7 separate regions of the Homo sapiens genome follow, and regions 2, 3, 4, 5, 6 and 7 are each linked to region 1. Evidence: promoter capture Hi-C in 16 types of primary human blood cells and fetal thymus (Javierre and others, 2016). All regions are on one chromosome and are shown on one strand. The core of a region is centred on a gene start or on the middle of the fragment in contact, and the rest is flanking DNA. Distances in the headings are between cores, read along the strand shown. Region 1 holds the start of MRPL9 (mitochondrial ribosomal protein L9). Region 2 overlaps PI4KB (phosphatidylinositol 4-kinase beta). Region 3 has its middle 2.9 kb from the start of PI4KB. Region 4 has its middle 4.3 kb from the start of RFX5. Region 5 holds the start of SELENBP1 (selenium binding protein 1). Region 6 holds the start of PSMB4 (proteasome 20S subunit beta 4). Region 7 overlaps POGZ (pogo transposable element derived with ZNF domain).

Region 1 (3,950 bases), core at 1,069-3,568:
TCTCCAGTGAGTCACAAATCCCCAGCATTTCCCTAGGTAGACAGGAAATAAATGGAAACCACCACCTTTTCCTATCAGTCTTCAAATTCTATGTGACCATCCTTAGTCCTTAGCCATTTCCTTCCCATATTCCTGCAAACTAACCAAGAATACTTTCCTTAACTACAACTGGATGATCACACCCCTTCCTAACAAAGGGATCAATCCCAGGCCTCCTTTCCAGAGGCAGCTTCCACCTCAGGGGTAGAGTGGTTTTTGGGAACACTCACTCACATTCTTAAAGAAGTGGCGGGCAACTATTTCAGGGTTCAGCTCCCATTTGACATTGTTCTTCATCCCTACCTCCAGGCGACAGCTTTTTAGAAATTTCACTGTCTGAAAGGAATTATGAGTTTGAGTCAAAGGAGAGGAAACATGTCAGGGTCACAGGGTATGCAAGCCAAGCAAGATGGCTCATGCCTGTAATCCCAGCACTTTGGGAGGCCAAGGTGGGTCTCCCAAAGTGGGTCACTTCAGCCCAGGAGTTTGAAACCAGCCTGGCCAACATGGCGAAACCCTGTCTCTACCAAAAATACAACAGTTAGCCGGGCATGGTGGCGGGTGCCTGTACTGATTATCTTCTCATGTGTCCATGTTCTCTCCAACTTGTACGTAAATATCCTTGAAGGCAGAGCCCTCATCTCAGACTATTCCATGGGTTCCCTGATTCCCAGATTGGGACCTCCCTTGGTACTTTAAGGCACTTCACCCAACACATCAGGGATCTCCCAAGAGGTCTCCATACCTGTTTTGTGGGGCAGCCACAACACTTCCCCTTTCTCCCACTCTTGGGTCTGCAATCAGGAGACCTCAAGGGAATCAGGGAGACTCTCAGGGTGAGGTTGGTAAGTCTTGTGACAAATAAACACTTTTTATGTTTCTACTCACCGCCTCACCTGCCTTGGTCTGGATCTTCTCTAATTTTCCTTCTTGTCTCAGCTAGAAAAGAAAGTTAAAGATGAAAAGCAGTAAAAGAAAAATGAGCCCATGTTAAATAGCATCAAACTATTCCTATGTTGGACATTGGCTGGGCTTCTGCATTCCTGTTCTTCTAGTTCCTATTTCATTTTCAAGTTAAGTTAAATGTCAAAGGGAAGGAAGCTGCAAGAGAAAAGAAGTTTTATCTCCCCAAGTCTCTCTGTCCTTCCTTTGAGCTCACCAATTTCTCCTCTTCAAACAGCTTCTTGTTTTCAGGGGATGCATATACAGCCAGTCCCTGAGGAAGGAGTCGATTCCGGCCTAAAGATTTCTTCACTGAGACCAGGTCACCCCGGACTCCAACATCTGTCAATTAGAACAGAGACAGGGGAATTAGAACCATCTAGGAGTCCCTAAAGAAAAGATGTCAAAAAGAGAAGCACCTCTTAGTTTCTCACAGTGCTTATTTTTCCTAAAAGAAATGCTAATTCATATTCACTAGGAACAAGATTTAAGAGACTGCTAATTAGTTTCTTTAGAACTTGATGTATAAATTTAATATCCCCTGTATAGAGGGAGTTGTCGTCCCATGGAGGATTTCAGTATCTGTGGCACAAATTGTCAGGCTCCTCTCCCCACACACTGTTAATGATGTTGCTGCCTTTATGTTTTAATTTTCAATGCTGGAGGCCAGTGTCACAATCACAATAGTTTTTATGGCTTCCTCTTCTCACATATAGAGTTGGATTGTTTCCACAAAGAAAAAGCAAGGCAAATAGTTGAGGGGGACGGGCTAGAAAAAGCTGATGCCAAACCGGACCAGCCTGAGAGGAAGCGCCTCGGCCCGGGCCTTACTCTCCACCGACTGCGTCAGGATGAGCTCCAGGTTTTCTTTGGGCCGATGCTTCGTGTCCTCCACCAGCTTATAGACGCGATGTCGCCGGTGCAGGCGCGGCTTCCGGCCCTCCCCGGCCAGCGGTACCTTCCACCAGCGCTCCACGATGACCGTGCCCTGGCGGCCAGGAAAGCGACGGTAAGCTAGTCTCCACAAGGAACACCCTCTCCCTCCACCACGGCCGCCAGCCCCTCAAGGAAAGCCCGCCACCCCCACATCGGCCCCCTCCAGGTCCCAGTGCGCCTCCAGAAACAATACTCGAGCGTATCTACCCCCTACCCCAGACTCAGCCCTCACCCGATTTTGAGAAAGGCTGAAGTTGCAGGCCAGGTCAGGGGCGTTCCCTTCATGTCGCGGCCGCAGTAGCTCCTGGACGCCTCCCCGAAGCAGCCGTCCAGCGCCCGCCCGCAGCAGAGCTCTGCCCGGGGCCGTGACAACGGGCGCCGCCATGTTCACAGGCACAGAATGAGACCTGAGGGAGGACCCCGGCGTCGGCGGCAGGAAAGGCCCCCGCCAGTGCTGCCTGCGGCGCGCCGGTACGGCTGAGCGAAAGTATGGGGAGCGGGCCGGGGAACAGATGGCACCGCGGCTTGCCTATTTTTGCTTTTTGGCAGAGGTGACGGACGCCTAGAATTACTGACTGATAATGGAATGAGTGTTAGGTGGACTGACGCCGGAAAAGACGCTCTTCCTCTTGAAAGTGTGGGCTTTGCTGTAGCTCCAGTTGCTGGGCTAACTTTTAATTCTAACGTTCTGTGATGACTGGATACTGACCGGAGAATGAATGATGCTCTCACTTTTCCTTACTTCAAATCTACCTAAAAGTGGTAAAGGATGGGATCCCTTGGAAAACTCTGCCAGCTCCAGGAGGAGCCTGACCCTTAATCATTATACTGCAGTATTTAAGCTAATAAAGGAGAATTCTAAATCACAAGCTATGTAAACCGTAGAAAAAAAAGCAACTATGGTAAGGCCGCGACAGTTCCCTCTGGGGAGGGTCTCAGTACTGGACAGAAGACCATAAAAACTGGATGAAAGAAGGTCCATTTGGCAGAGATTATGGAAAGACTGGCCCTTAAACATACTGACCAGTCCTCCTTCCTCCTAAATACACTACTTGGCCTCCTGGACACCGGTCTTCTTCAGTCTCGTTTGCTGATTTCTCCTTTTCTCCCCGCTTCTTAGAATGCCCTCGGGACTCCGTTTTTGAACCTTTACTCTTCTCAGTATACACTCACTGTTGATCTCATCCAGTCTCGTGGCTTACAATACCATTTATAAGCCAATGACTCCCAAATTTCTAGTTCCATCCTAGACATCTCCCAAACTCGTCTCAAATATTCAACTGTTTATTCGTCATTTTCCTCTTACGTATCCAAAGGACACCTCAAAGTTAACTGTCCCAAACTAATTTATTTATTCCCCCCTCGCCCCCAAAACTGCCCCATCTGCAGCCTTTTTCCTCTCAGTTGACAGAAACTCCATTCTTTCCATTCTAACTCTTTTCTCTCATACTCCATCAGGAAATCCTGTGGGTTCTACCTTTAAATTACAGATAGTCCCTGACTTGGATTTACAATTTTTGAGTTTGTGATGGTGTGAAAGTGATGTGCACTCAGTAGGACATCAATAAGTTACATGAAATATTCAACACTTTATTATAAAATAGGCTTTGTGTTAGATGATTTTACCCAACTGTCGGATAAGTTGTCTGAGCATGTTTAAGATAGGCTAGGCTAAGCTATGGTGTTTGGTAGGTGTATTATATGCATTTTCAACTTATGATACTTTCAACATACGATGGGTTTATCAGGACATAACCCTATTTTAAGTCAAGGAGCACTTGTATTTCCAGAATCCAGCCACTTGTCACCACCTCCAATGCTCTACCTTGGAATAAGACACTACTTTCTCCTGGATTACTGCAATAGTCCCCTAAAAGATATCCCTTAATTCTCTACAGTTTATAATTCTATGTAGCTTATTTATAGCAGCCAGAATGATCTTTTTAAAGCATAAGTCAGATCATGTCATTCTTCCACCCAAAACTTTGTAATGACTTCCTCCTTTACTCAAGGTAAAAGAAAAAGGCCATCAG
Region 2 (3,950 bases), core at 375-2,874, 450 kb before region 1:
CTAGAAGGCCTACTGGGGCTTCCAGTGTGACATGCGGCAGATTTCTCTGTACAAAGGTTGCAGTCCTGAAAAGACAAAGCTAATCTACTAACAGTGTCATCATATCGGGGAGGGTGTGATACCTAAATCACTCTCTCCTTTTAGCTCCCCCATTCTATACCAAAATATTTGCCATTTGGTTACAAATGGGAGGACAAACTGCCTGGGCAGAGTTCCCCGACTAGGCTGATAAAATGGCTTTGAAGCGGCAGGCTTTGAGGAGCAGTGGTGGAAAATGTGAAAAATCAGCACAAAGCCTTCTGACTGTGGGAGAGAGTGTAAAGGATTCCTCATAGTAAGAAAGAGAACACTGTGAGAGCTGAGCAGAGAACAACTCTGCAGGGAGACCATGGGCAGGAAGAGAACTGTACATGCTGCCCCTGAGCCTCTTCTTTGAGGCCCGACCTCATCCTTGGGAGCCCCTCTACTGGTGGTAGGAGCATAGTATTAAACTCAGAACCTAAAAGAAAAGCAAGAGACTGGGAGCAGAGTGTTAGGGTCTACCTAGAGATTCTCCTAGAGTATCTCTGCTTAGGTCTTAGATAATTATGTGCCTCATTTTAGTAAGCTGTATACTTCCTGCTTATGGCAGAAAACAACTTTTTCAAGAGAGTCACAAACTAAACAGTTCCATAGATACTGGGGTTTTCATTATTACTTCACATGTTCCTAGAGGGAAGGATAACATTTTATCCCCCGTCCTCCACAGCACAGCTCACGGCTTTGGACATTGTACAAAGTCAATAACTACATGTTGAGTGAATGAATGTTACATGAAAGGGAAGAAGGATGAGTAAAAGGAAAACCAATTCCTTTGGTATTTAGGGGACAAAAGCCTTGACAGACGCATCCTCAAAATGCCAAAGGGGCTGGGTCTAGTCACTCATGCCTGTAATCCCAGTGACTTGGGAGGCTGAGGCGAGAGGATGACTTGAAGCCAGGAGTTTGAGACTAGCTTGGGCAATAGAGCACGACCTCATCTTTACAAAAAAATTTTTTAAAAATTAGCCAGGTGTGGTGGTACATAGCTGTAGCCCCAGGTACTTGGGAGGCTAAGATGGGAGGATTGCTTGAGCCCAGGAGTTAAAGGCTACAGTGAGCTATGACTGTGCCACTGCACGCCAGCCTGGGCAACAGAGCAAGACCCTGTTGCAAGAAAAAGGGCGGACGGACAGACAGACGGGTGGGCGGAAGGAAGGAAGGAAGGAAGGAAGGAAGGACGGATGGAAGGAAAAGGGCTGGGAGAGACCCCTGTGCTGACGACTCTAATGCTTAGAAACCTAGTGATATTCATGTTTCTGTCTCTTTCTTGCTCTCCCATTTTCTGTGGAGCCATAATGAATTCAGGTATTTCATTCTGTCAGTATCAGATAACGCAGGAGTGCCTGGGAACATAGTATCTCCTTCCTCTCCTGGATCTAGTGACCCAAGATAAGGAGTCAGGTTGGAAGAACGGCAGCTACAGAACCCACCCTAAATGATGTAAGTATTCACCTAATACCTGCCTCTCAGTGCCATCCATAATCTTATCCTGGAGTGGGAGTTAGATGTAAGGAAAGAGGGACCAAGGATCAGCAGAGTAAGAAAAGCCCTGAGGCCTCAGCTTTTCTGGTCCTAAGATGAGCACTACAAAATGGATAAAGAGAAAAGCCAAGCCTGACAAGAGGCACCAAGGAATTCACTTCCAGCTGCTCACCCTCTGCTACAGGTTTGACTCCAAGATGAGACAGCTATCCAACCCTTCATGTTCCACTAGAATCTGGATGACTCTTCTTGTTCTGCAGCAACTTCTCTTCATGACCCAGGGCTCTGCTGCCAAGCTCAACCAGATATGAAAACGGTTCATTCTAGTTCTGACAACAGTTTTGGCTTTGCCTGTGCATGGATGTGGAAGCTCAGATGGCCATAGCCTGGGCCGTTCTTCCCCACATGGCTTCTGACAGCTGGGGACCTTGGGAAGTAGATATTGAGAAATAACCAAGGTAGTTCAGCTGAATGATTATGAGCACCAGCTGGAGATTTGAGTCCTGGTCTGACATTCACTAGTTGAGGGACCTTGGGCAAAACATCTAATCTTTCTAAGCCTCAGTTTCCTTGCTGGCAAAATAATACCTGTCTCTCAGCATGGTTGTGAGGATTAAATGTAAAGTACTTGGCAAGATGCCTGGCACATAAGTGCTGAATAAATGTTAGCACTTTTAGCTTTACCATTATTAAACTATCCTAACAAAATTCCAAATTTCCAGAGAGCAGGCTCTATAGTCTCCCTCCCTCTTCCTTTTCTCTAGTCACTCTGACTTCCCTCTATTTGAAAGAAGTCCCATTGTATCAAAAACGTGGGTGGGTTATATGCCCCACAGAGGCAGATGCCAAGACCATAGCTATCCGCATTTTTCAAAAAGTGCAAATTCCTCCTTTTTTTCTCCCTCTTTTCTAGGCTGGGTTGGAAGCCAGGATGGGAGCCTGGCCAATGGTGAGTCAGAGGGGAGGACTGGAGCACCATTGTCTGGCTGGGACACCAGGTCACTGACACTTGGTAGTCCACTGGGCAGCTTTCCCTGCTATCTGTCCAGATGTGGAGTGAAGAGTGGGTATAACCTATTCATGTGGCCACCTCTTCCCTGCTCTATATCCTAAGTTATACCTCCAACTGCTGCTGTAGCTTCCTCTTCTTCCCAGCCTCCAGGTCCTTGACTAGGCACTATATTTACTCTATACTAAGAGTGCTTTCTCTTCCCTTTGTGCTTCTCCCAAATGGTATGGGAAAGATACCAGCAAGGCACTCTTCCCCCTAAGGAAAGGCAGGCAATGAAGGCATTCTCCAGATGCCTCAGTGATAAGAAATAAACCTTACACTTATGTCAACAAAAGGTAGGATCTTCAGAGGGTAGTGAAAAGGGATTAGATTATGAGGAGGAGTGGCCAGGAGAATGAAGCCGATGTTCTAACATCTCCCCTACCCCAGCACACAGAAAGACAATAGTACCTTTTCCTTTCCCACAGATGCTGCTCTGAGAGGCTCTGGTAGCTATCTCAAGTCTCAGGTCAGGGTGTGGAGGGCTTCTGCCACAGTTCTCATTAACATAGTAGATGTTAATGGAATGGCAGTTTATTTATTTATTTATTTATTTAGAGACGGAGTCTCACTCTGTCGCCCAAGCTGGAGTGCAGTGGCGCGATCTCTGGTCACTGCAACCTCTGCCTCCCAGGTTCAAGTGATTCTCCTGTCTCAGCCTCCCAAGTAGCTGGGATTACACGCGCCCACCACCACGCCTGGCTAATTTTTGTATTTTTAGTAGAGATGGGATTTTGCCATGTTGGCCAGGCTGGTCTCAAACTCCTGACCTCGTGATCTGCCTGCCTCAGCCTCCCAAAGTGCTGGGATTACAAGCGTGAGCCACCGCGCCTGGCCAGTGCAGTTTAATAAAAATGATTTGGGACACAGTCAGGAGCGTCAGCCTTGCCATGACCTATATGACCTGAGGCAACTCACTTTATCTCTCTGGGTCTGAGTTCTTCCTTTGTAAACTAAGGCAGGCAAAATACATGAATTCTAAGGCCTTTCCATTCTAACATTCCATGCTTTTATCAGTGAAATGAAACAGGGAGGACAGAAAGAACAGCGTAACCCTGTGTGTATATAGGAGGCATCCTGTCTCCATGCAGCCCTCTACCACCTTTTGTCTCTGGCCCTCCCCAGAATTTTACCTCATCCTCATTCTCCACTTTAGGGTTGCTGGCTGTTCGTTTCAGGTTGCTGCTGAGACTTATGCTGGCAGTGGCATCTGACTTAGAGCGCTGGTGAGTCCTTTTGGAGGGAGACAGCCCTGTGTCAGGGGCCGGGCTCAAGGAGGGCAGCTCCCTCTTCCTGTGAGCTGGCTTTAGCTCATCTGAGAGGATCAGCTTCCGTA
Region 3 (3,950 bases), core at 777-3,276, 430 kb before region 1:
TTCCAAACAAAACGAAACCATATTAGGCCAAACAAATAAACAAAAACACGCCATGCAAATGGGCCTCTGGTGTTGCTTTTGTGTATTTTTCGTTTGTTTGTTTGTTTTGTAAAGACAGGGTCTTGCTATGTTGCCCAAGCTTGTCTCGAACTGTTAGCCTCAAGCAATCTGCCGGCCTCAGGTACCAAAGTGCTGGGATTATAGGCCCGACCTCGCCCAGCAAGTTTTTTGTGTATTTTTCGGTTAAGATTGTTGATTTAGAGCCCTCTTTGTCCTCAGAACCTCTATCTCAATGCCTTTCCTAGGGCTTTACTTAATATGCAATGCCCCTCATTAGTGCCTTACTTAATACATTGAGGCTAGTTATTTGAGCCCGGGTCTTGAATGCCATCTTCCCTGCCACTTACAAGCCGTTTGATTTGGAATAACTAATGTAACCTCTTTAAACCTCAGTTTCTATGTCTACAAAGAAGACATATGGATGAAGTAATATTAGCCCATTACAGGGTTTTGTTAGGATCAAGAGAGTACAAGTTGCTACTATAGTACTTTATTATTAATTATTGGGACAATCATACAGGATAGATGATGAAAGAGTCACTGCTACAATGTTTAATTGGAAGGCAGAATAAAGTGTAATAGCTTGAAAATGCCTGTGTAAAACATGCAGTATATACAACAGTAGAACAAATGGGGTACCTAACCTAATTGCTGAAGGGACATAGTGGAGTTTAAGTTAATTTGGAAGGCCTATATGTGTATGGACACACACACATACACACACACACACACACACACACACACACACACACACCAGTATATGGTGAATGAATGAATGGAAGGCTTCTTAGAAATATTGTGAGTCAGGTCTTAGAATAGATATTGGATATAACCCAGCAAAATAAAAGACAAGCGAGCATTCTGAAAGCAAAAAAATTGTATGTTGAAGAATATAAATGGGAATTTGCTCATATCATGAGGAGAGGGCAAGCAGACAAGCTAGGTTAAAGCAGGAGTACAGTATGAAAGATGAACAAAGAATGGGGACAAGAGTGCCAAAGATAGTTTAAATTTGTCAGCTGGGCACAGTGGCTCACACCTGTAATCCCAGCACTTTGGGAGGCTGAGGTGGGCAGATTGCTTGAGCTCAGGGGTTTGAGACCAGCCTGGGCAACATGGTGAAACCACGTCTCTTCAAAAATACAAAAATTAGCCTAGCTGGCATGGTGGCATGCACCTGTAGTCCCAGCTACTTAGGAGGCTGAGGTAGGAGGATCACTTGAGCCTGGGAGACAGAGGCTGCAGTGAGCCAAGATCATGCCACTGCACTCCAGCCTGGACAACGGAGTGAGACCCTGTCTCAAAAAAAAAAATCGGCTTGGCGTGGTGGCTCACGCCTGTAATCCCAGCACTTTGGGAGTCCGAGGTGGGTGGATCAGTCGAGGTCAGGAGTTTGAGACCAGCCTGACCGACTTGGTGAAACCCTGTCTCTACTAAAAATACAAAAATTAGCTGGGCATGGTGGTGGGTGCCTATAATCCCAGCTACTAGGGAGGGTGAGGCAGGGAATCACTTGAACCTGAGAGGCAGAGGTTGCAGTGAGCCGAGATTGCGCCATTGCACTCCAGCCTGGGCAACAGAGCGAGACTCCATCTCAAAAAAAAAAAAAAAATTCTCACCACTGGTCTGGATTGGGGAGAATCACCAGTCCACATGTTAGGCCCACCAGCTCTTGGCCAGCTTCCAATCAGCTGTCCCGCAAATATCATGAGGCGATGACCCTGCTTTAGCCTAGAGTTTAAAATGTCATGTATCCCCTCAAGGGATAACCTTCCAAACAGCCACAAGACTAGCCTTTTGAAACATTGTAGAAAGACATGTGACAACCTTTTTTATAGTAGGAAGTTTTCTTATTTTCCAATGACAGAAAAAATTTCAGAAACATCTCTTCAAATTTGAAGCAGGAACTTTTTATAGCTAGTCAGTTATAGACCACCCTACTAAAAATACACACACACACAAACATAAGTAGAAGATTTTAAGTTTCCTATTTATAGCTCTAAGGGTTCATATGTATAAATTTCTTTCTTTCTTTTTTTTTTCTTTTTGAGACAGAGTCTCCCTCTGTCGCCCAGGCTGGAGTGCAATGGTGCAATCTTGGCTCAAGGGACCCTCCTCCACCTCCTGGATTCAAGCGATTCTTCTGCCTCAGCCTCCCGAGTAGCTGGGATTACAGGCATGCGTCACCATGCCCAGCTAATTTTTGTATTTTTAGTAGAGACGGGGTTTCACCATGTTGGCCAGGATGGTCTTGATCTCTTGAACTCGTGATCCGCCCGCCTCGGCCTCCTAAAGTGCTGGGATTACAGGCGTGAGCCACTGTGCCTGGCCCATATGTATAAATTTCTTTGCATCCCTTTATGACTGTCTTTCTGCCGTTTTCGGGAGGGTTTCTTTTTTTTTTTTTTATCATCTTCTGTTTTTTGTTTTTGTTTTTTTTGAGACAGGGTCTTGCTTTTTTGCCCAGGCTGGAGTGCAGTGGCGTGATCTCAGCTCACTGCAAACTCTGCCTCCCGAATTCAAGCGATTGTCGTGCTTCAGCCTCCCAAGTAGCTGGGATTACAGGTGCACGCCACCACGCCCAGCTAATTTTTGTATTTTTAGTAGAGATGGGGTTTCACCATGTTGCCCAGGCTGGTCTCGAACTCCCAACCTCAGGTGATCTGCCCACCTTGGCCTCCCAAAACGCTGGGATTATAGGTGTGAGCCACTGTGTCTCTACCAAAATCACAAAAATTAGCGAGACGTGGTAGTATGCACCTGTGGGAAGGCTTAGGCAGGAGAATTGCTTGAACCTGGGAGGTAGAGGTTGCAGTGAGCTGCAATCATGCCACTGCACTCCAGCCTGGGTGACAGAGTGAGACACACACACACACACACATACACACACACACACACAAAGATTGAATGCAGAAGCAGATATGAGAACCCAGTCTGACATTAAAGAAATTTCCCCCTTTAAAAACAATGCCAATTGTCTCATTGATTTTTTTTCTTGTTTCGGAAAATATAGTTATTTTTCAAAAATGATTTAGTTCATATATATATATATATATATTTTATATATATATTTTTTTCTTTTTCTTTTTTTTTTTTTTAATTGAGACAGAGTCTCACTCTGTTGTCCAGGCTGGAGTGCAGTGGTGCCATCTCAGCTCACTGCAACCTCCGCCTCCCGGGTTGGAGCCATTCTCCTGCCTTAGCTTCCTAAGTAGCTGGGATTACAGGCACCCACCACCACACCCAGCTAATTTTTGTTATTTTCGTAGAGACAGTGTTTCACCATGTTGGCCAGGCTGGTCTCAAACTCCTGACCTCAAGTGATCCACCCGTCTCGTCCTCCCAAAGTGCTGGGATTACAGGCATGAGCCACCACACCCGGCCAAAAATATTTTTTAAATAAATATTTTGACTAAGTTATGTTTTCCTCCCCCTGATTTGTCTTTTTTCTCCTCAGTCTCCTTAGTTGTCAAATTGTAAAACTGAATGCCATTCTCTCCCCCCACATTAAATGTAAAAGCATAACATTTGCGGCTGCGTACGGTGGCTCACGCCTGTAATCCCAGCACGTTGGGAGGCTGAAGTGGGTGGATCACCTGAGGTCAGGAGTTCAAGACCAGCTTGGCCAACATGGTGAAACCCTGTCTCTACTAAAAAAAAAAAAAAAAAAAAAATACAAAACAGCCAGGCCTGGTGGTGGGTGCCTGTAATCCCAGCTACTCAGGAGGCTGAGGCAGGGAGAATTATTTAAAACCAGGAGGCAGAGGTTGCAGTGAGCTGAGATTGCATCACTGCACTCCAGCCTGGGTGACGGAGTGAGACTCTGTCTCAAAAAAGAAAAAAAAAAAATAAAAAAGCTTAACATTTGTGATATGCTCTAAAATTTCTCA
Region 4 (3,950 bases), core at 392-2,891, 410 kb before region 1:
TGCCTGTGGTTCCAGCAACTTGGGAGGCTGAAGCAGGAGGATCACTATTACCCATGAGTTCGAGGCTGCAGTGAGCTATGATTGCACCACTCTGTCGTGCAGCCTGGGTGACAGAGTAAGACCCTGTCTCAAAACAAACAAACAAACAAAAAACAAAAAAAAAGCCGGCTGGTGTGGTGGCTCATGCCTATAATCCCAGCACTTTGGGAGGCTGAGGTGGGCAGATCACCTGAGGTCAGTTTGAGACCAGCCTGACCAACATGGAGAAACCCCGTCTCTACTAAAAACAAAAAACAAAAAACAAAACAAAAAACAAAACAAAATTAGCCAGTCGTGGTGGTGCATGCCTGTAATCCCAGCTACTTGGCAGGCTGAGGCAGGAGAATTGCTTGAACCTGGGAGGCGGAGGTTGGGTGAGCCGAGATCATGCCATTGCACTCCAGCCTGGGCAACAAGAGCGAAACTCCATCTCTAAATAAATAAATAAATAAATAGCAAGCCAAATATGGATATAGACTGATGGAAAGATAGCCCTAACACCACTGTTTGGTATGAAGGAGAACCTAGAGCACTTTGGTTGCAAACAGAGTTTTGGGTAAGTTATCTAGCTTAAAAATTTGCAGATAACAGGGAAAAACTGGAAGCTTTAGTAAGGGGGGAGAAAGTATCATAGTACATAGTACCTAGTAAAAGAGATGATTTTGACAGCACTATAGAAGGTAGAGTTGAGTGAAAGAAAAGGCTAGAGATAGGAAAGAGGAAACTATTAATTTATGCCAGGCATTGTGTTAAGAGCTAGGGATACAAAGCTGAATAAGGTATGGTCCTTGCCTTGGGCAGTAACAATAAAAATTGTCCGGATAAGCATCATATAACAGCAAGTATTTATACAGAGCCTAATATGTGTTGGGGCCCGTTCTTTTTTTTTTCGAGACGGATTCTTGCTCTGTCACCCAGGCTGGAGAGCAGTGGCGCAATCTCGGCTCACTGCAAGCTCTGCCTCCCAGGTTCAAGTGATTCTCCTGCCTCAGCCTCACAAGTAGCTGGGACTACAGGCGCCTGCCACCACACCGGGCTAATTTTTTTGTATTTTTAATAGAAACGGGGTTTCACCATGTTAGCCAGGATGGTCTCTATCTCCTGACCTCGTGATCCGCCCGCCTCAGCCTCCCAAAGTGCTGGGATTACAGGCGTGAGCTACCGCGTGCGGCCTCAGATAGATACTATGATTATCCCCATTTTACAGGTGAGGAGACAGGCATTGAAAGGTTAATAATTTGCCCAAGATTACATCATAATTTAGTAAGCTATGGAGCCAGGATCTGCACCTAGGCTCTTTGCGTTGCAGCTTTTTTTTTTTTTCCTTTTTAGACAGAGTCTCACTCTGTCATCCAGGCTGTAGTGCAGTGGCTCCACTGCACTTGGCTCACTGCAACCTCTGCCTCCCAGGTTCAAGTGATTTTCCTACCTCAGCCTCCTGAGTAGCTGGGATTACAGGCGTGTGCCACCACACCTGGCTAATTTTTGTATTTTTAGTAGAAATGGGGTCTCACCATTTTGGCCAAGCTAGTCTTGAGCTCCTGACCTCAAATGATCCACCCACCTTGGCTTCCAAAAGTGCTGGGATTATAGGCGTGAGCCACCATGCCTGGCCTGTTGCAGCTTTTTCACTCTTGCTGTTTGGAGAGTGGGAGGGAGTGTTCCAGCATTTTCACTTCAACTGCTGGTGGACTCTGTATTCTTGTCCCACGACCAAGAAGAATAAGGTGTGTAGACACTGGAGAGTGAGTAAGGCAGTCAGATTTATTTATTTATTTACTTATTTATTTTATTATTTTTTTTGAGATGGGGGAGTCTCACTCTGTCACCTGAACTGGAGTGCAGTGGCATGATCTTGGCTCACTGCAACCTCCGCCTCCCGGGTTCAAGCGATTCTCTTGCCTCAGCCTCCCAAGTAGCTAGAACTGTAGGTGCCTGCTACCACACCCAGCCAATATTTTGCTTTTTGTTTTTTTTTTGGCGGGGGGGCGATGGAGTTTCACTCTGTTACCAAGCTGGAGTGCAGTGGCACAATCTTGGCTCACTGCAACCTCCACCTCCTGGGTACAAACAATTCTCCTGCCTCAGCCTCCCAGGTAGCTGAGATTACAGGCGCCTGCCACCATGCCCAGCTAATTTTTGTATTTTTAGTAGAGATGGTGTTTCACCATGTTGTCCAGGACGGTCTCAATCTCTTGACCTCATGATCTGCCCGTCTTGGCCTCTCAAAGTGCTGGGATTACAGGTGTGAGCCACCGAACCTGGCTAATTTTTTGTATTTTTAGTACAGACGGGGTTTCACCATGTTGGCCAGGCTGGTCTCAAACTCCTGACCAGCCAGAGTCAGATTTATTAAGCAACAGAAAAGCTCTCAGCAAAGAGGGGGCCTGAAAGAGGATTGCCAGCTATGAGGCTGAGTGGGAGGGTGAGGAGGGTGGCTTATGGACTGGGAAAGGGAGGAGTGTGCTGATCGGGCCTGCAGGCTATCTTGCAGAAAGCACCACTCAGAAAGAGGTATGATAGTGTAAAGAACCAGTTGGAGGCAGAAGTGAAGGCTTGGCTCAACAACTTGGCCTGGAACCAAGTCAGGGGCTGAAGTGAAAGCTTGGGCCAGGACCTTGGCCTGGAACCAATCAGGGGCTGAAGTGATGATTCACCCTATGTAAATGAAGACTCCCGCTGTGGCCAATCACAGAAAGGTAAGCATATGTAAAATAGATGAAAACTAAGAGACTAAGGTGTGCCAAAGAGAGTGAAATATGTCCAAAAAGGGAGTGGTATTTGTTCATCTGGGTTCCTAGAGTAGGTATTTCCATTCCAGGATGCGGGCTGTCACTTATCTGGGGCCTGCAGTTTAATTTTCAGGCTGTTCTTTGTTTGAAGGAGTTTTACCAAGGACCCACCTTAACTGCCTGCCTGACTGGTTTCTTCTTTCTCCTCTCTCATTTCATTCAGAATTTGCTCTTGGACACTATTATACATTGCCTACTAAGATTGGGAGTGAATTTTTTTTTTATTTTTTAAGACAGTGTCTTGCTTTCTCACGCAGGCTGGAGTGCAGCAGCACAAGCTCGGCTCACTGCAACCTCCACCTCCCGAGTTCAAGCAATACTCCTGCCTCAGCCTTCCGAGTAGCTGGGATTACAGGCACGTGTCACCACACACGGCTAATTTTTTATATTTTTGGTAGAGATGGGATTTCACCATGTAGGCCAGGCTGGTCTTGAACTCCTGACCTCAAGTGATCTGCCCATCTTGGCCTCCCAAAATATTGGGATTACAGGCGTAAGCCACTGTATCTGGAGCTTTTTTTTTTTTTTTTTTTTTTTTTTACCACTGCACTCCAGCCTGGGTGTCAGTGAGACTCTGTCTCAAAAATAAATAAAGAAAGAAACAAATGAACAGCTGGGCACAGTGGCGCATGCCTGTAATCCCAGCACTTTGGGAGGCTGAGATGAGTGGATCACTTGAAGTCAGGAGTTCAAGACCAGCCTGGTCAATATGGTGAAACCCCATCTCTACTAAAATTATAAAAATTAGCTGGGCTGTGGTGGCGTGTGCCTGTAATGCCAGCTACTTGGGAGGCTGAGGCGGAAGAAACACTTGAACCTGGGAGGCGGAGGTTGCAGTAAACCTAGATGGCGCCACTGCACTCCAACCTGGGCAACAGAGTGAGACCCTGTCTCAAAAAAATAGGTAAAAATAAATAAATAAATAAATACAATACAATACAATAATAAAAAAGAATACAAAGACAAGCTGCAAATTGGGAGAATATATTTTCAAGACATATAACTGACAAAGGATTATTATCTGGAATTTTTGAAGACTTCCTACAAAAAAAGATAACCAGCTGGGCATGGTGGCTCACGTCTGTAATCCTAGCACTTTGGGTGGCTGAGATGGGCAGA
Region 5 (3,950 bases), core at 753-3,252, 390 kb before region 1:
GGGTTAAAGAATACCCAGAGGGGGTGGCAGGCTGAAAGAAACCCTGGAGTGGAGTCCACAGGCCTGGGCCCTGTCTCCTGCCTTGTCCTGTGGCCAGTCCAGCCTCTGCCTTCACAGCTGGGCCGCAAGTGGGGAGCCAGGAGTAGGCAGAGTGGGGCCTCCACTGGGGCCTGGGACTCCCACTCGCAGCAGCCAAGAGACTTAGGAAGCTGAGAGGCAGCAACAGCGTTCAGAGTCTGGAAACCTGGTTTCAAGTCCCAGTTTTGACGCCCCGTTTCTCCATTTTCTCCTCTTCATTTACGAAAAGTGGGCAATAATGATATTCTACCTACTTTGCTAGGTAGATATGGAGGACAAATAAGACAATGTATTCCAAAGGCCTTTCATAAAAATGAATTAGGCCGGGTGCGGTGGCTCATGCCTGTAATCCCAGCACTTTGGGAGGCTGAGGCGGAAAGATCACCTAAGGTCAGGAGTTTGAGACCAGCCTCACTAACATGGCAAAACCCTGTCTCTATTAAAAATACAAAAATTACCCTGTATTAAAAATTAGCCTGTATTAAAAAATACAGGCATACACCTGTAATCCCAGCTACTTGGGAGGCTGAGGCAGGAGAATCACTTGAACCTGGGAGGTGGAGGCTGCAGTAAGCCGAAATCACGCCACTGCAGTCACTCCAGCCTGGGCAACAAGAGTGAAATTCTGACTAAAAAAAAAAAAAAATAATGAATTACTGTGTAAATATGGGAAGGGCTGTGCCAGAGGAGAGGAGAATGCCAGGGAGTGCTCGATGCCCAGCGAGAGGGCTGGAGGTGGGGCAGGGAGAGAGAGAGAGGTCCAGTTCACAGGAGTTAAGGAGACTGGTTCTGTTACACAATCTTGCTAAGTCGGGGCTTGGCACCAGATGACAGGGGGTGGGGAAGGAGGTTGCTGGATACAGAAGGGAAAGGAGATTTTAAAACTCCAAGACCTCAAGACAGAGATACAAAAAATACAAAGCTAGGGAGAAGCTGAGAGGGAAGTAAAAGTGCAGAGATGGAGCTGCCCGCTCTGCAGCCTCGGCCCACCCCACACCCCAGCAACCCCAGCCCCAGCATTTCTTAGGGTCAGGCCTGGCATGCCACTGCAGCCCCAGGGAGCATCATTCCTCTTTCTGGGGAATACCCCCATCTGAAACATCTCAAGCAAGGTCTCGGAGCAGCTTTGGGTTTGGGATGGACTCATGGAAAGCTCAAGTGGGTTTTCCATGTCAGGCTGGCTGCTGGGCATTCTGCCAGCTCGGCATTCTGCCAGCTCAAGAGCCAGCCCCGAGCGGGGAAGGACCTCCCAACCAAACCTCAGTTCCTTCTTAGCCTGTCACCCAGAAGCCTACAGATGGAGGAATAGCAGGGCCAAGGGGGATTTAGGGGTGGGGGAGGCATTGAAACAGGTCCCCAGTGAAAGAGTGTGGGGGTCTCTGATTTCCCTCCCAGAGAGCTTTGCTGTGTGGAGTAGCTAGAGAGTGACCTGGGCACAGAAAGGCTTTGGACTCCCTACCTCGCTGGAGTACAAAGTTGGCCCATGGCTGAAATCAGGATCACCTCTCTACTATGTGAGGGCCAGGGACCTAGTGGTGTTTTCTAAGAGCGCCCATCTGATTTTCCCAGCTGCAGAAAGGCACCCTGGTCCCAGCCTCTGCTGGATGGAGCCAAGTCAGGGCCCAGGATCCCATCTCCCAGCAGTGCCTCTGCCCGTCTTCCTCAGAAAGTTTGGCTGAGCTGGGAAATGCAGTGGGGTGGTGGGGGAGGGGGTGTGCAGACTGGGGACAATGAAGCAGAGTCCACTACTCCCTCCCCAGCTCCCCACTCAGGTTTTCTAGCATTTTCTGGAGGAGGGCCTTCCAAATTAGGGGCAGACAGAGCAGGCAATGGGTGATTGGAAACCCCTCTCCTTACCCATGCTGCCGACTGGTACACTTTGATCCCGGCGGGTTTGCTGTGCTGGTGTCAGAGGCCGCTGTTCCGGGGAAGGAGCGAAGGGAGGGAATTTATACAACCAGCTGGGGGTGGGGCAGAGAAGGAGGAGGGCCCGGGCTGTAGCCCAGAGTAAACTACTCAGGGCAGCTGGCCAGGATACTCTCAAGTGGCCTAGGGCAACTGGTGTTTGAATTATGGGGTGTGCGTGTATGTGTTTAAGTGTGTATGTGTGGGAGCCTGTGCTTTATTTATTTATTTATTTATTTAGAGACAGGGTCTCACTCTTGCCCAGGCTGGAGTGCAGTGGTGCGATCTCGGCTCACTGCAACCTCTGCCTCCTGGGTTCAAGTGATTCTCCTGCCTCATCCTCCCGAGTAGCTGGGATTACAGGCACCCACCACCATGCCCAGCAATTTTGTATTTTTAGTAGAGAAGGGATTTCACCATGTTGGCCAGGCTGGTCTCAAACTCCTGACCTCAGGTGATCCACCCGTGTCGGCCTCCCAAAGTGCTGGGATCACAGGTGTGAGCCGCTGCCCCTGACCAGCTCGTGCTCTTTAGTGGGTGCCTGGGTGTGTGTGGATTTGTGTGTCTGGGCATGTGTGTGTTCCTGTATACCTGCGTGTTGCTCGTGCACGTGCCTGCATGAGTGTGTATCTGTGCCTGTGTGTGAATTTCCACGTGTGTGAATGTGCCTGTGAGTGTGCTTGTGTGTATTTGTGCGTGTGTGTGTGTGCGCGCCTCTGTATGTGCCTACCAGAGTATCTACGCCTGTGTGTGTGTGTGTGTGTGTGTGCGCGCCTCTGTGAGTATGTGCTTGCTAGAGTATCTACGCCTGTGTGGACATGTGCATAAGTGCTTGTGTATGTGTAGTGTGTGGCTATGTGGCTGTGCATGTGCTTGTGTAAGCCTGCGCACGTATGTGTTCCTGTGTCTCCAAATGCTCGTCTTTGTATTTGGACCTGTCTCTTAGCATTTAGGGGCACCCGGGACTGTGGGCCCATCAGCCAGGGTCACTTCTTCCCTAAGATTGCCCTCTTATTCCAGATATTCATACTCTTTGGATAAAAGCTCTGGGGTGAAGTTTTTATTGGCTAGGAAAAAGAATAAAGTCTGGGCTTGAGATTGCAAGTAGAATACAGGGTTTCCAAACCAGAGTGGGGGAAGGGGAGCAAAATTGGGCCTTGGTGCATTGGGTATCTGTCTTCCTGGCTCCCATCAGTGAGGGATCATGTGCCCATCAAGGAAGACTCCCTGTGGCTGCCCGGGGCAAGGGTCTTCTCTTATCCCCAGCGCCACTCAACCCCTCTTGGCTCCATCCTGCATCTATTATCCTCACCATTGTGCCATCAGCCTGCCAGGCATCAAAGAGAGTCTTGTGTGTGCAGCTGCCCCACGGGGAAGGCCCTGAAGGCTGCTTCCTTGTCTTTGCCAGCTTCCTCCTGTCCTGACTACCTCCACTCACCCTGCCTTCACCCTTCCCTCTGGCCCTCCCCTCTTCCTCCTCCTGAGGTCTCCATCTCCTGCCTCCTCTCTATTCTCCGGCTTCTTGGCTTGGGTTAGTCCACCACCCAAGATCTGAAAGAGAAAGAAACTTTATCCCCACCTTCTCATAAAAAATTATTGAGTCATTAACTTAAAAAAAAAAAGGCTGTTATTTTGTTTGTTGTGGTCTGTCATTGACTACCTCTTTCATGCTCCTGAGCTCTGACCTGGCTGGTCTCTGCAGCAACTCCATGGCACCCCTCACCTCTGCCTGTGGTTTTCTCCCTGAACTCTTGCTCTACAGCCAGCAGGTGGTTGGGGAAGTTATCCTAATCTGGGCTACAGAGGGAGGCAGTAAAGGTAGAGGGGCGATTCTCCTGCCTCAGCCTCCCGAGTAGCTGGGACTACAGGTGCCCACAACCATACCTGGCTCATTTTTGTATTTTTAGTAGAGACGGGGTTTCACCATGTTGGACAGGCTGGTCTCGAACTCCTGACCTCAAGTGATC
Region 6 (3,950 bases), core at 1,004-3,503, 360 kb before region 1:
AACATGGTGAGATCTCTCCTGGTCTCTACAAAAAAATACAAAAATTAGGCCGGTCGTGGTGTCTCACGCCTGTAATTCCATCACTTTGGGAGGCTGGGGTGAGAGGATTACCTGAGGTCAGGAGTTTGAGACCAACCTGGCCAGTGTGATGAAACCCCATCTCTACTAAAAATACAACAACAACAACAAAAAAAAAATTAGCTGGGCATGGTTGTGCACCCCTGTAATCCCAGCTACTGAGGAGGCTGAGGCTGGAGAATCGCTTGAACCAGGGAGGCGGAGGCTGCTTTGAGTTGAGATCGTGCCACTGCACTCCAGCCTGTGCAACAGAGCAAGACTCCCTCTCAAAATAAGAAAAAAAGAAAAAAAACAAAAACAAAAATTAGCCGGGTGTGGCATCTGTAGTCCCCAGCTACTCGAGAGGTTGCAGCTGGAGGATCGCTGGAGCCGGGGAGGCAAGGGTCGCAGTGAGCCGAGATCATGCCACTGCACTCCAGCCTGGGTGACAGAGCCAGACCTTGTCTCAAAAAACAAACAAACAAAAGACACCTAAGGACAGTGTTGAGGATGGTATCCTCACCAGTCTCTGTGGGAGGATGGAATCCTAACTTCCATAAATGCCAGCTAGCAGACATCATTGACCTAAGCACATTTACATTGACTAATTCTGTAAATGTTCACTTCCCTGACTCTACTGACCCTCTGTCTCACTGTCCCCTAACCTCATTTTCCCTATAAAATACCCATTACTTGCATACAAATTGCAGTTGAGTTCAGTTCATGCTGAACTGTTTTTCCTTATTGTAGTAGTTATTACTGATTGAAATCTGTCCTTTCCACTTTAGTGTCCGGCTTTGTTTATCTTTGACAAAATTCACCAGTTTGATTCAAGACAGTTTCCAGCCCCTGCTATGGAGTTACACTGAGAAGGAAACCCCTGGAATTTAGTTTCACCCCTACACTTCCAATGGAATTTTTCTGTTTCTTTAGAGGTGGGCAAGGGCCCTTGACAATAAGGAAACTTTCAGACTTGTCTAAGGTCCCACAGAGAGTGCTTGATCCACCTGAGCTATCACACCCCACAGGGTATACACAAGTGTATTCTTTTTTTTTTTTTTTTTTTTTTTTTTTTTGTGACAGGGTCTCGCTCTGTTGCCCAGGCTGGAGTGCAGTGGCGCCACCTTGGCTCACTGCAACCTCCCTCGGGTTCAGGCGATTCTCCCACCTCACCCTCCCAAGTAGCTGGAATTACAGGCCTGGCTAATTTTTTGTTTTGTTTTGTTTTGTAGAGGTGAGGTCTCACCATGTTGCCAAGGCTGGTCTTGAATTCCTGGGTTCAAGTGATCCTCCCGTCTTGGCCTCCCAAAGTTCTGGGATTACAGGCATGAGCCACCGCACCCGGCCCTGATTCCTTTTTTTATTCTAGCTTCAAGATTCAGTTCTACCGTTATCGGCTGTGTGACTGGGTAAATCACTACACCGCAAGCCTCGGTTTCCTATTTACCAAATGGGTCGAATAATGCCTGCCACATGGGGCTGCTCTGAGGAGTACAGATGTAAGAGATCCTGTGTTCACTGATATTTTCATGTGGGCTTTTTGATAATGATACAAAAGGAACATGAGAACTGTGACTTCTAGGCCGGGCGAGGCGGCTTACTCCTGTAATCCCAGCACTTTGGGAGTCCGAGGCAGGCGGATCACCTGAGATCCGGAGTTCGAGACCAGCCTGGCCAACATGGTGAAACCCCATCTCTAGCAAAAATACAAAAAATTAGCCAGGCGTGGTGGCAGGCGCCTGTAATCCCAGCTACTCGGGAGGCTAAGGCACGAGAATCGCTTGAATCTGGGAGGCGGAGGTTGCAGTGAGCCGAGATCGCGCCACTGCATTCCAGCCTGGGGGCCAGAGCGAGACTCCGTCTCAAAAAAATAAAAAATAAAATAAAAAATTGTGACGTCTCACTCAGGATCAGCGTCTTTAAGTGGCCACCTCCCCACCCCACCTTCATGCCTCCCTCCTCCTTGAATCGTGTGTTAGAACGCTGTGATCTGGTCCAAACTCCACGGAGATGCGATGCGATGCGAAGCGATGTTGGGCAATTTCAACTCCCTGTCTCGGTCGCCACCTAGGATTACTGCATGTTCAGCTACGACCTCATCAACATGGCTGCTGGAAGTCGTCTACAGGAAAAAGAAAGAAATGACACTGAAGGATCACTTCCGCTTCCGTTGGCGCAAGCGCTTTCATTTTTTCTGCTACCGTGACTAAGATGGAAGCGTTTTTGGGGTCGCGGTCCGGACTTTGGGCGGGGGGTCCGGCCCCAGGACAGTTTTACCGCATTCCGTCCACTCCCGATTCCTTCATGGATCCGGCGTCTGCACTTTACAGAGGTCCAATCACGCGGACCCAGTAAGTTCTCGGCGCTTTCGTTTGCGTAGCGGGAGGGACCGTGGGGCCTGGTGCTGCCGGCTGGTTTTGAGAGCCCGGGAAGGTGAGGCGGGGACCCCGGGGGCGCGCGAACGGCAGGGGAGCTCAGGGCGCGGAGTCCTGGAGAATGCAGAATAATTGGAAGGAATTATAGAAAATCAGAAGCGCAGCTCAGTGCGCGGAAAGAGGGCGCAGTCCATCCCCCCTCTCAGCTCCCACCGTTCTCACTCTTTAGGAACCCCATGGTGACCGGGACCTCAGTCCTCGGCGTTAAGTTCGAGGGCGGAGTGGTGATTGCCGCAGACATGCTGGGATCCTACGGCTCCTTGGCTCGTTTCCGCAACATCTCTCGCATTATGCGAGTCAACAACAGTACCATGCTGGGTGCCTCTGGCGACTACGCTGATTTCCAGTATTTGAAGCAAGTTCTCGGCCAGATGGTGTAAGTCATCCAGAGAACAGGAGAGTGGTTCCCAAGTAGAGAGGGGAGTCCCCTGTTTTTTATTCCCTTCGATGGGATGGGGGGACTTGTTGCAGCGGGGGACTGGAAGAGTTGTTGGAGGTGGGCGATCTGTGTTTGCAATAAAGTTTTTGGCATTAGGTGTAAAATGGGGGAAGGTGTGGTAACTTCTTTTGGGGATGGGTGGAGACCCCGACTTAATTCTCTCCCTTTTCTCACAACCAATTCCTTTTAAGGATTGATGAGGAGCTTCTGGGAGATGGACACAGCTATAGTCCTAGAGCTATTCATTCATGGCTGACCAGGGCCATGTACAGCCGGCGCTCGAAGATGAACCCTTTGTGGAACACCATGGTCATCGGAGGCTATGCTGATGGAGAGAGGTTCATATGAATACAAATAACTTATTTCCTTTACCACCCAACCTAGTACCTGTGTAGTATCTCTTCTGTCTCTTCTCCCCAAGTGAATCCCACTTTAACTCAGACCCCATGGTCCCCTTCTTCAGCTAAGATGAATCTAAGGTGAAATGAGTTTTGACCCATTGTGTCCTGTTAGCTTCCTCGGTTATGTGGACATGCTTGGTGTAGCCTATGAAGCCCCTTCGCTGGCCACTGGTTATGGTGCATACTTGGCTCAGGTAAGTAGTAAGTCTAGAGGTGGGGGAAAGGGAAGACAAAAGGAAATGGATTAGTGGTTGTCTGCTTTTCTCCTGAAATTCTGATATGAGGGATGGGCTGGGATCGCTATTACTGGGCAGATGGTTTTCTTTGTAGTCTGGGGGCTGTAGGTGTTGACACTGATTCCAGTGACAAGATGACATGACTGGGAGTCAGTAGACATGCAAAGAGAGGACACCCTAGAACTTCTTCCTGAAGTGGCTCTTAGCTTATTTTCTAAGCAGAGTTCATTCTGGTGAGGCAAGAAGTAGAATGTCATCTTTCACTCTAATGCTTTTTATACCATAGATTTGAGACAACTAGCCTGTTATTCAGCCCAATATCCCCCCATGGTTTTCCCCCAATCTCCCTAGCCTCTGCTGCGAGAAGTTCTGGAGAAGCAGC
Region 7 (3,950 bases), core at 1,208-3,707, 340 kb before region 1:
GTGACAGAGCGATTGTCTCCCAAAAAAAAAGCTGAGCACGGTGGCTCACACCAGTAATCACAGCACTTTGAGGCTGAGGTGGGTGGATTGCTCGAGCTCAATAATTTGAGACCAGCCTGGGCAGCATGGCAAAACCCTATCTCTACAAAAAACACCCCCCAAAACAAAAAACCCCCCAAAATTAGCTGGGCATAGTGGCATGTGTCTGTAGTACCAGCTATTCAGGAGGCTGAGTTGGGAGGATCATCTTAGCCTGGGAAGTGGAGATTGCAGTAAGCCAAGATTGTGCCACTGCACTCCAGCTTGGCTAACAGAGTGAGACCCTGTCTCAAAAAAAAAAAAAAAAAAAAAAAAAAACTACTTTCATGCCAGATCTGTCAAGGGTGCAAAAAAGGAAATTACGAAAGACTGCAAGAATAAAATTGATATATGCTAAGGAAAGGTGATTTTGGTAAGCATAAAATCTTGTCATAAGAGACTCAAAAATTAAGTCAGGGAAACCAAGAGAAAAAAGATCAATGAGGGTCTACATTGTTTCTTTTCCATAAGGAAAAACTTATCTTCCCTCTGTGTAATTTTATTATTTGTGGAACTTCGGAATAACAAAACCCACCCCCCATATTACGCGTAAAAATGAGTTAGGTGCCCAGACTGGGCAACACAGCAAGACCCTGTCTCTACCCCCAAGAAAAGGAATAAATTAGCTGGGTGTGGTGGCATATGCCTACAGTCCCAGCTACTCAGGAGGCTGAGGTGGGAGGACTGCTTGAGCCCAGGGGTTCGAGGCTGCAGTGAGCTAAGATTGCGTCACTGCACCCCAGCCTGGGTGGCAGAGCAAGACCCTGTTGTCTCAAAAAACTGGTGTTTTCACTAAGAGGTATGGATGAGTTACTCTGGCTTCACATTACTGACAGTGAAGAATCGTGAGTCCTATTCTAGACCAAGCTGGCTACCCTGGCACTACACTGCAGTGTTACCATTGATTCTTTGTTTTTTGAGACAGAGTCTTGCTCTGTTATCCAAGCTGGAGTGCAGTGGCGTGATCATGGTTCACTCTAGCCTTGACCTACTGGGCTCAAGCAATCCTCCCACCTCTACCTCCTGAGTAGCTACGACTATAGGCGTGCGCCACCACACCCAATTTTTGTATTTTTTTTGTAGAGACGGGGTTTCTCCATGCTGCCCAGGCTGGTCTTGAACTCCTAAGCTCAATCTGCCTGCCTCGGCCTCTCAAAGTGCTGAGATTACAGGTGTGAACCACTGCACCTGGCCCGGTTGATTCTAATATACATTCTACTCCCAAATGATTAGTCCAAAGTTTCACTGTCTAATATGGTGGCACCAGCAACATGTATCTAGTGAACACTTAAAATGTGGTAAGCTCAAACCCAATTTAGATTTGTATTTCAAAAGATCTGTTTTTTAATGGAGGAAAAAAGAATGACGAATATCTCATTAATTTTAAATTTTGAGTTCATGTTGAAATATTTTTAATATACTGAATAAAATATGCTGTTAAAATTAATTTTGCCTGTTTTTTTAAACTTTACAGTAGACGCCCTTTGCCAATGGGAAATATACGTTCCAAGACCCCCAGTGCATACATGAAACCTCAGATAGTATTGAACCCTATACATACCGTGTTTTTTCATATATATATATATATATACCTATGATAAAGTTTAATTTATAAATTAGGCAAAGAGATTAACAATTAAAAATATATAATATATAAAAGGATAATTATAACAATATACTGTAATAAAAGTTATGTGAATGTGGTGTCTCTCTCAATAATCTTATTGTACTGCACTCACCTAGTTTTGGACTGTGATTGAGACTAAAATTGAGGATAAGGGAGCGCTACTGTATTTAAAGTGAAAAAAATTAAAATTACTCATGAAGCTTGCATATTTCTACTGCCTAGTGTTACTGTAAGCCATTAATGTCAATCCCACTTCCCTTGCCAATAAATGGTCAGAGATATAAAAGGAAAGCAATTCTCACTCATAAGAAAACAGATTCAAGAAAGAAAAATTGAGGATAAGGGAGCGCTACTGTATTTAAAGTGAAAAAAATTAAAATTACTCATGAAGCTTGCGTATTTCTACTGCCTAGTGTTACTGTAAGCCATTAATGTCAATCCCACTTCCCTTGCCAATAAATGGTCAAAGAGATATAAAAGGAAAGCAATTCTCACTCATAAGAAAACAGATTCAAGAAAGAAAGATGGGAAGATAAGATCTCTTCTTTGTCTAACAATTTTTTATCTGGACATAGTGCCTGACACTTATACAGCCACCCTGCTATGAGCCAGAGACAAGAGAATTGTTGAAAACCAGCAGGGCAGTCAAATTCTAGGCTGAAGCATCCATTTCTGTATCTCTCAGTTAAATGATATAACAGATATTCTTATTGTTTTCTTTTGTTTTGAGACAGAGACTCGCTCTGTCATCCAGGCTGGAGTGCAGTGGTGCGATCTCAGCTCACTGCAACCTCTACCTCCTGGGATCAAGTGATTCTCATGCCTTGGCTTCCTGAGTAGTTGGGATTACCTGCGCACACCACCACAGCCAGCGAATTTTTGTATTTTTAGTAGAGATGTGGTTTTGCCATGTTGGCCAGACTGGTCTCCCCTGGCCTCAACTGATCCACCCACCTAAGCCTCCCAAAGTGCTGGGATTACAGGTGTGAGCCACCACACCCAGTCCTTATTGTTTAATTCATTTTTAGTTAAGGATTTTTACTTGTAGCAAATGCATCCAGATAATATGCATATGTCTTCTATGCTTTTGATCATGCTGTTTTCAATCACCTAAAAGCTTTTCTTACTACTCTCCATCCATCTAAACCTTTCTTAAATTTAAGCACGACTTTCTTGGAAACCTAGCCACAAGGATTTTTTCCCTTCTCTGAAGTATTTCACCTATCAATGATATCTTAAAATGTCTATGTTTATAATATACTATCTTGTTCTCACATTTTCCTATATTTACATAATTTTTGTCTTTACAACAAAACTGGAAATCCCGTAAAGGACATGAGAAGTATTCTCAATACTGGGCTTAAATCCTCACTATGTATCCCCAGTAGAGGTGTATTTAGAGGTGTACGCTCATAAGCAAATGACTCAATTTCTTTGAGCTTATGTTCAGCCTACATCTATCTATAAAATGTACAGTGTAGAAAAACATTCCAGCTTACCTTATATTTCACTGAAAGCACTGTCTTAATGATAAAGTACTTCATAATATTATCTTTTTTTTTTTGGAGATGGAGTTTTGCTCTTGTTGCCCAGACTGGAGTGCAATGGCATGATCTCAGCTCACTGCAACCTCCGCCTCCCGGGTTCAAGCGATTCTCCTGTCTCAGCCTCCCGAGTAGCTGGGATTACAGGTGCCCGCCACCACACCCAGCTAATTTTTGCATTTTTAGTAGAGATGGGGCTTCGCCATGTTGGCCGGGCTGGTCTCGAATTCCTGACTTCAGGTGATCTGCCTGCTTCGGCCTCCCAAAGTGTTGGGATTACAGGCGTGAGCCACCGTGCCCGGCCATATTATCTTTTATCCTACTTAATTTCTTTGAGCTTATGTCCAGCCTACATGTATAAAATATACAGTGTAGAAAACACTCCAGCTCATCTTATATTTCATTGAAAGCAATGTCTTAATGATAAAGTACTTCACAATATTATCTTTTAGCCTACATAAAACCTATCAGGGTTTAACTAAAGTGGAAGAGCAAATAGATGACTGTTCCTTCTATAAAGAGACCTAAGAAATAAATTAATTACATTTGTTTTTCTACAGTGGTTCTGAATCAACGCCCCTAACAATTCAGGATCTAACACTGAACTCAATCCATGCTTGAACAAAATAAAAGTCAGGCTTGTAAAAAAAAACAAGGTGAATGAAGTAAAGAACTGGCTACAAATATGAAAAGTACTTCCT

The links. Contacts are between HindIII fragments. The CHiCAGO score rates a contact against its expected background, and 5 or more counts as called.
Region 2: a fragment that was not itself captured here is called in contact with the fragment with the promoter of MRPL9 in region 1 in 1 of 17 cell types (erythroblasts); the score reaches 5.1 in erythroblasts.
Region 3: a fragment that was not itself captured here is called in contact with the fragment with the promoter of MRPL9 in region 1 in 1 of 17 cell types (erythroblasts); the score reaches 5.1 in erythroblasts.
Region 4: a fragment that was not itself captured here is called in contact with the fragment with the promoter of MRPL9 in region 1 in 6 of 17 cell types (endothelial precursors, M1 macrophages, M2 macrophages and 3 more); the score reaches 7.9 in endothelial precursors.
Region 5: the fragment with the promoter of SELENBP1 here is called in contact with the fragment with the promoter of MRPL9 in region 1 in 1 of 17 cell types (M2 macrophages); the score reaches 5.2 in M2 macrophages.
Region 6: a contact is called between the fragment with the promoter of PSMB4 here and the fragment with the promoter of MRPL9 in region 1, in 3 of 17 cell types (M1 macrophages, M2 macrophages and megakaryocytes). The highest score is 8.8, in M1 macrophages.
Region 7: a contact is called between a fragment that was not itself captured here and the fragment with the promoter of MRPL9 in region 1, in 6 of 17 cell types (endothelial precursors, M2 macrophages, megakaryocytes and 3 more). The highest score is 7.2, in endothelial precursors.

Annotation. Positions count from the first base shown.
Region 1 is chr1:151,761,178-151,765,127 of GRCh38, forward strand. It overlaps MRPL9 (mitochondrial ribosomal protein L9), which reads right to left and starts at 2,319. Exons shown (of 7, transcript NM_031420.4): 1 at 2,150-2,319; 2 at 1,813-1,969; 3 at 1,199-1,323; 4 at 928-978; 5 at 274-375. The coding sequence starts at 2,302. It also overlaps a transcript of OAZ3 not described here. RefSeq lists an enhancer at 2,090-2,469. The HindIII fragment of the contact is 8,401 bases long and covers 1-3,950 here.
Region 2 is chr1:151,311,826-151,315,775 of GRCh38, forward strand. It overlaps PI4KB (phosphatidylinositol 4-kinase beta), which reads right to left. Exons shown (of 12, transcript NM_001369623.2): 2 at 3,748-3,950. Among named protein-coding and RNA genes, the nearest start is that of PI4KB, 14 kb to the right of the region's middle. RefSeq lists an enhancer at 1-22. The HindIII fragment of the contact is 5,699 bases long and covers 1-3,950 here.
Region 3 is chr1:151,328,380-151,332,329 of GRCh38, forward strand. No RefSeq gene overlaps it. Among named protein-coding and RNA genes, the nearest start is that of PI4KB, 2.9 kb to the left of the region's middle. The HindIII fragment of the contact is 3,778 bases long and covers 138-3,915 here.
Region 4 is chr1:151,349,575-151,353,524 of GRCh38, forward strand. No RefSeq gene overlaps it. Among named protein-coding and RNA genes, the nearest start is that of RFX5, 4.3 kb to the left of the region's middle. RefSeq lists a silencer at 1,626-1,826. The HindIII fragment of the contact is 1,999 bases long and covers 643-2,641 here.
Region 5 is chr1:151,370,703-151,374,652 of GRCh38, forward strand. SELENBP1 (selenium binding protein 1) reads right to left here and starts at 2,003. Exons shown (of 12, transcript NM_003944.4): 1 at 1,936-2,003. The coding sequence starts at 1,939. RefSeq lists enhancers at 1-610, 1,357-1,940, 1,941-2,524. The HindIII fragment of the contact is 17,083 bases long and covers 1-3,950 here.
Region 6 is chr1:151,397,320-151,401,269 of GRCh38, forward strand. It overlaps PSMB4 (proteasome 20S subunit beta 4), which reads left to right and starts at 2,254. Exons shown (of 7, transcript NM_002796.3): 1 at 2,254-2,408; 2 at 2,662-2,868; 3 at 3,123-3,269; 4 at 3,445-3,526; 5 at 3,920-3,950. The coding sequence starts at 2,269. RefSeq lists enhancers at 1,611-2,333, 1,934-1,983, 2,334-3,055 and a silencer at 2,824-2,981. The HindIII fragment of the contact is 7,561 bases long and covers 1-3,950 here.
Region 7 is chr1:151,419,339-151,423,288 of GRCh38, forward strand. All of the region lies in intron 10 of POGZ (pogo transposable element derived with ZNF domain), which reads right to left. Among named protein-coding and RNA genes, the nearest start is that of PSMB4, 22 kb to the left of the region's middle. The HindIII fragment of the contact is 726 bases long and covers 2,095-2,820 here.